Regions from separate parts of the Homo sapiens genome. Here region 2 is linked to region 1. Evidence: promoter capture Hi-C in human tissues and cell types (Jung and others, 2019). All regions are on one chromosome and are shown on one strand. The core of a region is centred on a gene start or on the middle of the fragment in contact, and the rest is flanking DNA. Distances in the headings are between cores, read along the strand shown. Region 1 holds the start of EIF2AK4 (eukaryotic translation initiation factor 2 alpha kinase 4). Region 2 overlaps LINC02694 (long intergenic non-protein coding RNA 2694).

The links. Contacts are between HindIII fragments. The study calls those that stand out against the background at their distance.
Region 2: a fragment that was not itself captured here is called in contact with the fragment with the promoter of EIF2AK4 in region 1 in 1 of the 25 tissues and cell types used here (hippocampus).

Annotation. Positions count from the first base shown.
Region 1 is chr15:39,931,135-39,937,788 of GRCh38, forward strand. It overlaps EIF2AK4 (eukaryotic translation initiation factor 2 alpha kinase 4), which reads left to right and starts at 2,981. Exons shown (of 39, transcript NM_001013703.4): 1 at 2,981-3,205. The coding sequence starts at 3,062. RefSeq lists an enhancer at 2,694-2,833 and a silencer at 2,854-3,263. The HindIII fragment of the contact is 10,364 bases long and covers 1-5,960 here.
Region 2 is chr15:38,697,152-38,703,805 of GRCh38, forward strand. It overlaps LINC02694 (long intergenic non-protein coding RNA 2694), which reads left to right. Exons shown (of 2, transcript NR_160786.1): 2 at 987-2,887. Among named protein-coding and RNA genes, the nearest start is that of LINC02694, 3.9 kb to the left of the region's middle. The HindIII fragment of the contact is 3,418 bases long and covers 2,383-5,800 here.

The DNA.
Region 1 (6,654 bases), core at 1,731-4,230:
TGGCATATGCCTGTAATCCCAGCTACTCGGGAGGCTGAGGCAGGAGAACTGCTTGAACCCGGGAGGCAGAGGTTGCAGTGAGCTGCGATCGCACCACTGCACTCCAGCCTCGGTGACAGAGTGAGATTCCATCTCAAAAAAAAAAAAAAAAATACATGTCCAGAATATATAAATATTTCTCAAAAGTTAATAAGAAAACAAAAACAAAATTTTTAAAATGCACCAAAGATGTGAATAAAAACAGAAGACAGACGATATATGAATGGAAAATAATCACATGAAAAGATGCCCAACATCATTAATCATTAGGATAATGCAAGTTAAGACACACTGAGATACTGCTAAGCACCAATTACTATGTTTAAGATTAAAAACATTACAATACCAATTACTGGCAAAGAGGTAGAACAACTGGAACTCCCATAAACTGATGGGAATATAAAGTGGTACAACCACTTTGGAAAACACTTTGACAGTTTCTTATTTTTTTTGCTTTGAACTTTGACTTTAAAATAATTTCCAACTTACATAAAATTTTCAAGTCACTCAAAGAGCTCTCATATATCCTTCACCTAAATTCTCCAATGTTCAACATTCTACATTTGATTTAGCATCATCTCTCTTCTTTTTCCTGAATCATTTGGGAGCTAACTGCATATTTAATACGTCACTGCCCCCTTAATGCTGCATTTGGTATAATACTGCCATGTAATCCACAGATTCCTTTCAAATTTTGCTGTTTGTTTTAATTATATCTTTTATAGGTCCAGCGTCCAGTATAGATTCTAATTTTACACAATGGAAATATTTGAACATAGATTAGGTATTAAACGATGCTAAGAAATTGTTAATTTTTTTTTAAGAGACAAGGTCTTACTCTGTTGCCCAGATTGGAGTGCAGTGGTGCAATCACAGCTCACTGCAGCCTTGGACTCCTGGGCTCAAGCAATCCTCCCACTCAGCCTCCTGAGGGTGGGACTACATGTCACCTCGTCCAGCTAATTTTTTATTTTATTTTTTGTAGAGATGGGGCCTCGCTATGTTGCCCAGGCTGGTCTCAAACTCCTGGCCTCAAGTGATCCTCCACCTTGTGCTGGGATTACAGGTGTGAGCCACTGTCCCTGGCCAAAGGGTTACATTTTTAGGGTATAAGATTAGTAATATGTTATGTTGGTTCCTTTTCTAGTTAGAGATATATCCTTAGGTATTTATTTTTTAAAATGATATGATTGAGACTTAAAAAAAACACTCCTGAGGGATGGAGAGAAGAGATGAAATAAAATTGACAAAATATCTATGGTTGTTGAAGCTGGATGATGAGTACAGAGGAGTTTACTTCTAAGTATGTTTGACATTTTCATAAATATAGGTTTAAAAGAATTTTTTTAAAGACCAATAGAGAAATGGAGTAATTTTAAGGATTAGAGTGCAATGGCCATATTTGCAATTTAGAAACATTACTCTGGCTGCAATAGGAAGAATGGCTTAATGTGGGGCAAGAATGAAGACAGTGACTAATTAAGAGAGTTATTGAAGTAACCCAGGGAATTGGTGACAGTAGCCTGAACTAAGTTAGTGGCAATGGGTTAGAGTGTAGTGGATGGACAGAAGTGGTGACTATTTGGATGTGAGTTGAGAGAAAGGGAATTCAGAATCACACTCAGTTGAATGGTGCCATTTACCTAGTCAGAGATCACTGGAGAAGGAACGGGTCTCCAGCAGAGGGAAGATGATGATTTAAATTGGCCTTGGGTCAAGCTAGTGCATTTGTGTTATCTGGCCAGAAATGAGTGGATAGATGGCAGCAAGGAATTTACACAATCATTATTTAGTGAACAGTGGAGGAGTAAGCAAGGTAGACAGAAGAAACGTCACTTAAACCTAACTTGGGTTAGTACAATAGGATTATTCGAAATGGACATGCAGCATTAGTAAGTTACTGAAGATGAAGTGCAATAACAATGTCTGGGTAGACAGGTTATTATTTTATAAACTTGAAAAACGACGACTTGAGGCAGGATATAACACAAAGACTCCCTAAATTCACACTGAGTGAACTGGGAAGGGAACATGATTCTCTTCATGGGAAGGTAGCTCATAAAGATGCCTGAGTGGAAAGACAGTTTTCAATTGAATTTGCAAGGTGGTAGTGGAGATCCCCAAAGCTGGGGAATGTAGAGACAGAGAACATAATGAGGGTGTTGAATCTGTGGCTCAGAGAATAAGTTTGGGGGTACTAAAGTGGGAGGAAGGAGGGTGGGGGGGGTCACAATTTTTACTCCCGGTAGTCTTGTTCTGGGAAGGTACAAGGTGAAATTAGAAGTGACCTCAGAACCCATCGACGTCTGCCCTTTAAGAGTTTCCCGGCCGGGCGCGGTGGCTCATGCCTGTAATCCCAGCACTTTGGAAGGCCGAGGCGGGCGGATCACAAGGTCAGGAGATCGAGAACATCTTGGCCAACATGGTGAAACACCATCTCTACTAAAAATAGAAAAATTAGCCGGGCGTGGTGGTGCGCGCCTGTAGTCCCAGCTACTCTGGAGGCTGACGCAGGAGAATCGCGTGAACCCGGCAGGCGGAAGTTGCAGTGAGCCGAGATCGCGCCACTGCACTCCAGCCTGGGGAACAAGAGCCGAAACTCTGCCAAAAAAAAGAAAAAAGAGTTTCCCGCACTAGCCATGCCAGGGTGGAGAAGTTCCAGCAAGCACTTCTGTTAAAGATACTTGTTTCGTGAAAACTATACAATGTGGCGTTTTCATTCCTATCTGTGATTCATTTCTTAAGTTCGTGGAGTTCCTTTGCTCCCCTTCCCCCAGCAGGATGTGGGCAAAGCTGTCCCCCTGCCTTCTTCCTTCGCCTGGGCTTCTGGAGCCTCCGGAGCTAGCTCCCGGCGCGGAGCTCCGCCTACGGCCCGTCCCCGGCGCGGAACCCCGCCCACGAGCCCGTTTCCAGCGTGGAACACCGCCCATAGCCCGTCCCCAGCGCGGAGCCCCGCCCCGCAGGCTGCCGGGGGCCCACCGCCGCCCAGGCAAGGCCGCCCTGCCTTGGGCGCAGCGCTGCCATGGCTGGGGGCCGTGGGGCCCCCGGGCGCGGCCGGGACGAGCCTCCGGAGAGCTACCCGCAACGACAGGACCACGAGCTACAGGCCCTGGAGGCCATTTACGGCGCGGACTTCCAAGACCTGCGGCCGGACGCTTGCGGACCGGTAGGAACGTGGCTTGTCAGGCCCGGGCTGGCGTGCCCTGGCCTCCCCGGGCCCTGGGCCAAAGCCCGGACACTTCCAGATTGGGCCGCCGCTTTAGGATCCTGCAGTCTTTTCATCCCTTAGGTTCCACCCATGCTCACTTTAGTCCTTGCACCTGCAGCTGGTCTGCAGAATCCCACCTAGGCCGAATTCTTCTACAGTCCTTTCCCCATGATTTCCCCAGAGGAATCCCCCTGGATTCCTCCCTCTTACCTGGCACTGCTTCTTATTCCTGCCTACATCCCATAACATAACTGCCTCCTTCCAACCTTGTCCTTTTTCCCCTCTGAAAGCCCTTGCGGATGATACCACAGCAATTCATACGCGCCCCTTGCTACTTTGTTCTGAGAACGCTTTTTGGGCTCTCGCACAGGCCTTACGTCCTCAATCAGAATTCTCAAGTCTCATCCATGCATTCAAATCTGCACGCCACATAATTCCCTCTGTACTCCCCAGGCATCCTCACTGTGTTTTCCGGTATGGAGGAACTTTCCATACCTCTGCACCTTCCTCTAAGACATTTAGCTCAGAATAAAGCACACATTCATCTTAGCTGTAGTAGAGAGAGGGTTCTAGACTGAGTCTAGAGAAGGAGTGTCCAATCTTTTGGCTTCCCTGGGCCACACACAAAATACACTAACACTAAGGATAGCTGATGACCTAAAAGAAAAAAAAAATTCGCAAAAAAACCTCAATGTTTTAAGAAAGTTTACGAATGCGTGTTGGGCCACATTCAAAGCGGCCCATGGGCCTCGGGTTAGACCAGCTTGCTCTAGCTCTAGACCTTTTAAAATGGCATTTTGTTTAAAATAATATTTTGCCTTTTTGTCTGGAAATTAAGGCACGTTATAAAGTATTTATACTGACAGTTTTTTCCCCATCCTTGAAGAGTTGATCTACCAAACTATTTCTGAATATTATCATATTATCATTTAAAACATAGTTCTAACTTCATCTGCTTTTTTTTTTTTTCTTTTTGAGACAGGGTCTTGCTCTGTCTCCCAAGCTGGAGTGCAGAGGCATGACCACGGCTCACTGCAGCTTATTCTCAAGCAATCCTTCTGCCTCAGCCTGTCAAGTACCTGGGACTACAGGCACATGCCACTACACCTGGTTAATTTTTTTAATTTTTTGTAGAGACAGAGTCTTGCTCTGTTGCCCGGGCTGGTATCAAGTTCCTGAGCTCATGCAATCCTCTCACCTTGGCCTCTGAAAGTGCTGGGATTACAGGTGTGGGCCACCGCGCCTGGCCTCTTCATCTGCTTTTAACTTTGGCATTTCACAACATCTGCTCTATCTACACATCCAGGATTTCCTCAAGAAATACCATCTTCTGGAGCTATCAGGACAAAATATTCTCTCTCAAACTCAGGGTGCTTCTTCCTTCATTAAATATTTGTTTTAGGCATTAGGAATACAGCTGTGGGCAAAACAGACAAAAATCCTTGCCCTCAGGGAGCTTACTTTTCTAATGCTTAATAATATGAAGTTATTTTTAACCTGAAATGGTAAAAATATAAATTATTCCCCTTAACATGACAGAGAAGTTGGTGACTGGGGAACTTCTATCTTCCCAAACCTTGAGAATCAGGAAGTAGGCCCAAGAAGCAGCCAAAATAGGTGTCTCAAAGTGTACATGGGACTCAACACAAAGCTCCTAAGGCTTCATTCTGAACTAGTTTGTTTACTTTATACAAGCTTAGTTGTCTGCTCCTAGGGCTGCAGAAAAATGGAAGAGAAAAAGCAACTTCTTTTAGGTAGGGATATTGATAACCTCAAGAATTTATAGCTGGTGGCTTTCATAACAAGATGGAATACTAGACAAACCAAAGCAAAAACTATAGAAGGCAGGCAGAAGAATTTAAATAGCTGTCTGTGGCCTATTGTACACCGGGCAAATGGCCTCAACACATTCATAGGACTGGCAGGCAAATAATTGATGGTCTCAAGGATGAATCAGAGTTTAGTCATTCAACAAGCACTTATTATCACCTGCTATTTGCCAGGGAAAAGTGATGCAGGTCCAAAATCCTTTATCCAAAACTCTTTATTGAGAGGGAGTTTCTCTCTGTCGCCCGGGCTGGAGTGCGGTGGAGCAATCTCGGCTCACTGCAACCTCCACCTCCCAGGTTCAAGCGATTCTTGTGCCTCAGCCTCCTGAGCAGCTGGGATTACAGGTACCCGCCTCCACACCTGGCTAATTTTTGTATTTTTAGTAGAGATGGAGTTTCATTATGTTGGCCAGGCTGGTCTCGAATTCCTGACCTCAAGTCCTCCCGCCTCGCCTCCCAAAGTCCTGGGATTACAGGTGTGAGCCACCGTGCCCAGCCTTTTATCCAAAACTCTTGAGACTTGATGGGTTTCAGAATTCAGAAGTGCTTCTGTTCACGTTTATGTGTGCACATTCCACACATTACCTAATACCTTCCTCAGTGTCTGGGGCAGCATCGAAAATCAAACACAATGAAACATAGAAATACTCAAATTTCACACTGAACAAATAAACACTATAACTAACCTCATGTCAGTTCAGGCTAAATTTGCTGCCAATAAATTCAGGTTAGATTTTTTTTTCAACTTCTTTTAGTGGGGATGTGTTGTAATATAAATTTCAGTTTAGTAGCATATGTATATCATTTATAAATAACATTTTGAGGTGCATGCTAAAAACTTTTGCATTTGTAAAAAGTTTAGACACTGCTAGTTTAAAGTATCTATAATTTATAGATAGTTACAAATTACTAACTTATTTTGGCTAGCTTTCCACAGCAGCAAAAGGTCTGCTCATTTATAATTTGATAGCTTTTGGAAACATCCCTCCAAAAAACTTGCTTCAATCCCTGGATCCCCCAGTAGTGTATGGTGGTGTTTGTTTTCCTTTATCTTCAACAATACTATATATGTTAGACTTTTTCATCTTTGCCACATAAATGAAACATATCTCATTTTAATTTTTATTTATTTATAAATTATCTAGAACACCTTTGTTTACAAACCATTGATTTTTCTTTTTCTGTGAACTGCTCATACTCTGGTTTATTTTTCTACTCTGTGGTCCATTTTCTTGTTTATTTGTAAGAGCTAAATATCTTAAGAAAACTAGCATTTTGGGTCATATAATGCATATATTTTTCTCCTAATTATATGCATTTATTTACGTAATTTATGTGATTTAAAAAATGTTGATAGAGTCAAAATGACCTTTTTTTTCTTTTATGGTCCCTGTGGGTTTTTTTTCCCCCTCTGTTCCAATGTTACTAAAAACCAAATTCGTCAAAGTTTACTTTTAACTTGTTCATGACTTCGTTTTTAAATTTTCATCAAATAAAGATATAAGTAGGTTTTTTTTTTTAAGTTCTTCGTTCCATCAAAGTACGGGCCTAGGCCACCTCCCCGTGTGCATCCCTCCT
Region 2 (6,654 bases), core at 2,842-5,341, 1.2 Mb before region 1:
TTGATAGACAGAAAGATGCCCACTCCCCCAACCCAAAGATGTTTACATTCTCATTCCTAGAAACTGTAAATATGTTATCTTAATAGCAAACAGGATTTTGCAAGTGTGGTTAACATTAAGGATCTTGAGATAAAGAGATTATCCTGGATTATCCGAATGGGCCTAATCTAATCCTAAAAAGCAGACAGGCTTCCCTGGGTGCAGTCAGAGACAGAAATGCAGCTAGGGGAATTGGAGTCAAAGAGAGGGCCATGAGAGAAGGATTCCATGCCCTGTGGCTGGTTCTGAGAGGTAGGGACTCTATGTAAGGACAGAGCAAATGTCTTCTAGGAGTTCAGGGTGGCCCCAGTTAGCAACCAGCAAGGACCTCAGTCTTACAGTCCCACGGAACTGTCAAGACCAGAATGAGCAAAGATAGTGATGCACCCCCAGAGCTGCCACCAAGGAACGCTGTCCTGCCGAGACGTTGATTTTAGTCCTATGAGACCCATAGGACTTCTGGCCCATAGAACTAAATGATAGTGTGTGTTTTAAGCTGCTAAAGTTTTGGTAATTTATTATAGTAGCAACCGATAATAGAAATGGCTATAAAATGGAATGTATTTTGTAACTGAACATAATTTTCTTGCCTCTGGTGTCCCTAATTTCCTTGGTGGCTGGCAGTCATAGAGAAGTCCTTTTCCATGGTTAGCTGTGTGCCAGTGACGGGGAGGGCATCCTTACTCTGGTCTCAAGTGCTTCTTGGCACCCCTGGGTTTACTTTTTTGCTGATGTCCCCTGGCATAGGTGTTGCTAGAAGCTGGCGTTTTTAGGAAGCACGTAGAACTCTCTGCTCCTTCATAGTCAGTCAGTGGCTCCATCCCAGGCAGGTGCTCCAGACCCATCCCATTCATTAGTCATCTATTCTGTACAAGAAACTTGATGAATTTTATTTCATTTAATTCTAACAACTATATGAATTAGGTAATGTTATCCCCATTTTACAGGGAGGAAAGCTGAGGCTCAGAGCAAGTGAACATCTAACCCAGGGCCACCAACAAGAGCTCAGGGATTGGAATCTGGGAGAAGATGCTTCCCTTCTCTTCTCCAAGAGTCCTTTTGGGGCTGGCAAGTTGATACAAGCTCCAGCTCATGTCTTCAGACAATGCTGGGTCCAAGGAAATGCATGGATCTCCTGCATTACAAAGTTTGACTCCAAGAGAAGCCCAGAAGTGGCTTCCAGCCCCTCCTACCTAACTGTGCCCCGCCGTTCACCACTTCCTGTCTTCCTGCGACCCAGTGACAGATGTGTCTGTGGGGGCTGCTACTTGGGAAAGTCCACCAGGAGGAGAGCATGCCAATCTCTCCTCTCAGATCCTCTGGGGGTTACTTTCCCCACCCAAACTAGGCCTTGATGTCAAGGCCTAGTTACAGGGATGTCAAACTAGGAGGTTGATGTCGGTGTGGTGTGTAAGATGTTGGGGAGAAGCTGCAGGTGCCTTCTTACCAGCTCTTCCTGAAAACTTGTCTCTCCCTCTCCTTGTTAGTCTGTTTTATAACTCACACTCCAGCCGGGGGGAAGTAAAGGAGCTTATCCCGTTCACAGATCCTGTAACCCATGGTGGTTATTACCTCATAGCTGGTGCAGTGTTCTTTGAGCCTAGCAGTTTGGTTTAGACTCAAGTGTCTATTCTTTGCAGTCTTTCTGGGGTTGGTAGCAGAGAAAGAGAAGAGAACAGGTAATTCGATCACTCAGGTTATTCGTGTGTAAAAGTTGAAGCCCTACCACAAACGTATGAGTGGATGTTATAGTGTAATAACCTGGACATTGCCAAGACAGCTTCCTCAGGGCTTTTGTTTCCTCAAGCCTACCTGAAGGCTCTCTTCTCAGTCACGGGGGATGGAATTGTTTCATCCCTGGCTTGCTCTGGGCCTCAGTTTCCCTATTCCAGGATAGTTTCCCTATTCCCTATTCTGCATCATAAAAAAAAAAATACACTCCTGATAGAAGTCGGTTGATGCTTTTGGCCTGCAGCCTCCTTAAGGTTAATAGTCCACATAATTTCCTCAGGGGCCCTGGCTGGCCTGTTGTGGGTGTACCCATGAAGTATCTTGATTTGCTATGATAGGAGCCACCTTGGCTTCCTGTGGAGATAAGCCCTGCCCCTCGTTCCCACTTTAAGCTTGAAAAGTCCCTTATCCAACTTTGGAATGGGAACTAGAAAGACTAAGCAGTGTCTCTCAGGGGTTCCTTCTGGGGTCACTCAGAAGAGGAGAACCAAGCAGTCTTGGCGGAGAGACACCTGAAGTTGGTCACTCGGCACATTACCAGGGGCTCAGCAATGACCAGCCTGCAACCATCCTGCCTTTCCCCAGGGGTCTGGGCTCCAGCCATGGAGGGTGGACTGGAGACTCCTTTGCCTTTCAACACTGTCTGGCCTGTCTCGGGTCCGGCACGTCTTTTCTCTACTGATTTTGTGGCTGTGGTTAACTTAGCTAACCTTTCAGTGAAATAATGTCTAGTGGCATTCCTTTACATTTTCCATGTGCTGTTTTTTCCATAACTCCATTTTCTTCAGGGCTGAGTTTGGGTCTTCATTTTTCCACCCACAGGCCTAGTTAAGCTTGGTCTTGTGCTCCAACTTACCTGCCCCAGACTTCTTGGATGGACATTGTCAATCTGGTCATATTGAGAGTGAAACTGCCACCTAGTGGTCACTGGAGGTGTGCCTGCCTTTTCATGAGCTCTCTTGCTGCTGGTTACCGGAAACATCAGTTGATGGTTTTCTTCTAAGCTAACTCAGAAGCTGTGATGTGAATCAGACCAAACAATTTATCTGCTTCAAATCCATATTGTAAAGAGGTTTAATATAAAGACATATTTTCAAATCAAAATAAATAATGAAGCAAAAATCAGATAGACATGTACTCCTTTGCCAAACTGGAACACAATTTTTCTTTCTTTGACTAAATTTCAATTCAAATGAAGTCCTACAAAGACAAAACAAATCAACTAACAAACAGCCCAACAAAAACACCTAAACCAAACAGCCCAGCAAAAAGCGGAATGGTCATTTTCATTTATCCAACACAAATCTACTTAGTGCTGGGCTGGTTCTGGTAGGCAACCAAGTGTTTAGTGGATACCCGAGCAGCTCATTCTAATACAACATGGCAACTTAAAATCAGGTGAAGAAATGCAGTGGGAGAAAACAAAGAGGAATTGGTAACTCTGCAGAGCAGTGACATTTGAATAGACTTGTCAAGGAAGACTAGATTTAGTCAGGCAGGAGGGAGAGAGGGCAGGGAGGGAATTCTACCTGACTAAGGAAGAGCATGTGCAAGGCCTAGGGGAATGGAAGAGAAGAATGAGTTCAGGTGTCTGGAAGAGGTTGTCTTAGTAGGTTTCCTGTTGCTGTAACAGAATACTACAGAGTGGGTAATTTATAATGAAGAGAAATTTATTTAGTGTATGGTTTTGGAGGCTGGGAAGTCCAAGAGCATGGTGCTGTCCTCCAGGAAGGGTCATTCCATGGCAGGGAGGCAGAAGGGCAAGAGAGGGAGTGTGAGAAAGAGAGACAGAGACAGAGAGGGAGGGAGGGAGGAAAAGGGGGCCAGACTCCCAAGATCGCTCACTCACTTCTGTGATGACAGCATGAGTCTATTCACAAAGGCAGAGCCCTCAGGACCTCATCACCTCTTACAGGCCCCATCTCCCAAAACTGTAACAACGGCAATTAAATTTCAACAACAGTTTTGGTGAGGACATTTGAACCATAGCAGGTGAGTAGTGTGGCTGAAAAAATATCATTAAGTCTAAAGCCTTGTAATGCATTAATTAACCACCTATTTTATATATTTATTGGCTACCTGTCTTATTCAAAGTAGATATACAAAGGTATGAGACATGGAGAAAAATTTAAGATGACATGGAGGTATATTGAAAAGATGTCAGTTCTTCCCAAATTAGTCTACAAATTCAAAACTAGCACAGTAAAGATCCCAGCAGGTTTTTTCTTTTGTGGAAATTGAGAAGCTATTTCTAAAATTTATTTAGAAATGTGGAGCCAAAAATAGCCAGACTATCTTAAAAAAGAACAAAACTGGAAGACTGATACTACTACATACCAAGAACTTTAATAAAGCTAAACGAATTGTTGGGAAACTGGCAACAATTAAAACTGAATGTACACACACCCTCGGACCCAGCAATTCCATTCCTATGTACATGTCCAACAAAAATGCATATATATTTAATAGAGATTTATACTAGATTGTTCAACACAATGGTATTCATAGCCGTAAATGGTGACTATCCGAATGCCTTTCAACCCGGTGGTGTCTTTGTACAACAGGATTCTGTATAGCAATGAAAATGAATGATTTACAATTACACACAACACTCTGGATGTATTTCACAAATATTACATTAAGAAAAAGATGCCAGACTCAAGAGAATACACATTGTCCAATTCCACTTATATAAAACAAAAAAAGGGCCCCAAACAAGGTCTTGCTCTGTCACCCAGGGTGGAGTACAGTGGCATAATCACAGCTCACTGCAGCCTCAAATTCCCAGGCTGAAGGATCTTCCTACCTCAGCCTTCTGAGTAGCTGGGACTATAGGAGCATGCTATCACACCCACCTAATATTTAAAAAAAAACTTTTTGTACAGATGGGATCTCCCTGTATAGCCCAGGCTGGTCTCAAACTCCTGCACTCAAGTGATCCTCCTGCCTCAGCCTCCCAAAGTGCTGGGATTACAGGCATCAGTCACTGCGCCCAGTGTAAAAAATGGCCAAAATTAATTGTGGTAGATTGATTGTACTAGCAGCTCTAACTCTTCATCTCTTAAAATCCATGCCCTTTGCCATATGACTGCAGCTCCTTTCACTGAAGATGTGGAGTGTATTTCCCCAGCAGGGTCAGGACTATGGTGAGGCAATGAAGGCAACTGCCCCAGCCTTAAAATTAAGGAGGCACCAAAATCCTCAGTAATCAAGAAAAATAATATTGAATGCAATGTTTTTGAAAAATCAAAATTAATGCAAGAAAATCCATTGTGAACAAAATTTCGATAAAGACAGGAGCTGACCCTGCACTTGCATAACTCAATTTACTAGCCTCACTCTACTAGCCTCACTCTAATCCTGGCTCTGTCAGATCCTATCTTGAATAAAGAGGATGCCTGCATATTTCTGTTTGTTCTCTTATTCTCTGCTATCACCATGGCCATGCCTGGCTAGCCTGCTGGAGGCGAGCTGTCCCCCAACCCCCAAGGTGCAAGAGAAAGTCTGTGGGGGATCAGTCACAGTGGTGGGAAAAATTATAGGGAAAGGATGCAAACCTTCTGAAAGGTTGGAAGCTCCTGCAGAGCCCCAGGAGAGAATAGCTGAAAGCAGCTGTTCTATAACCCTGAGGCAGAGGGCAAGGAGTAAGTACAAAGGAGTGTAGGGGAATTTATCTTAAACAGGCTTGTTTACTTATGTTGACCAGGAACTGACCTTTGATCATCCACACACCTGACTTTCTCTGGAAGGAGAACAATAAATGTTAATTACCTACAGGTTGTGTTGGCTCCAGGTTTTTGGCATTGTGCCTGAGCTGAATAAAAGCAAGCAGCTCCAGCTTCTCCAGGCTGCTGTCTGGCCGTTAGAGCCAGCCAGTCACCTAGCTGCTTTTATACTGCATACCTGTGTCTGAGTACTCATTTCATCCATTGGCCAAGGCCTGTGGGACAGACCTGGCAAGAGCCCAGCCAAGATGAACCAACTTGCCTACACAACCACCCCCGTGAGTGAATGATAAAATATTGAAGTTTTGTGATTGTTTGTTCTGCAGCAAGAGCCAACCGATGCACTGAACTATGTAGTTAAGGGTCAGGATAGAGGTTGCTTTTGGGAGATGAGGCATGAAGTGGGTTCTGAGGTGCTGCTGAGTTCTGTTTCTTAACCTGGGTGCTAATTACACAGTTGTATTCAGTTTGTGAAAATTGACTTGTATGTTTATGACCTGTACAACTTTCTATATTTTTATATTTGAAAACATTTTAAAGGGTAGGTGACAAGGCTCTTACTATTTTTTTCAAGGACAACTTACTGGGATAAGATGTATAAAATAAAAGTTACAAGCACCAGAGACTGAAATCAAAATCCAGAATAAATTGAACTTGAACTAATATTCAGAAAAATCTATGAAAATACCTATTTTGGACTCTATCCACAATTATTTATGTGAAACCACTTAGAATTACTTAGACCATTATTTTTAAATTCTGTTAGGCATGACACAATCACAACATAAGAATATTCTCTGAACCAGTATTTCATTCGGTTTGGGTTTTTGCTGAATTCATCTTTACATGTGGCTTTGCATGGCCTCATTTCAATAAAAATGAGACCAATGTAAATTATTATGATGGCTATTTTTCGACCATATAATACTGCTAATGTCAGTAGGCTTTTCTTTTCTTTTTTTTTAATGGAGTCTCCCTCTGTCGCCCAGGCTGGAGTGCAATGGCAAGATCTCAGCTTACTGCAACCTCTGCCTCCCAGGTTCAAGCCATTCTCCTGCCTCAGCCTCCCGAGTAGCTGGGATTACAGGCGCCACCACCACGCCTGGCTAATTTTTGTATTTTTAGTAGAGACAGGATTTCACCATGTTGGCCAGGCTGG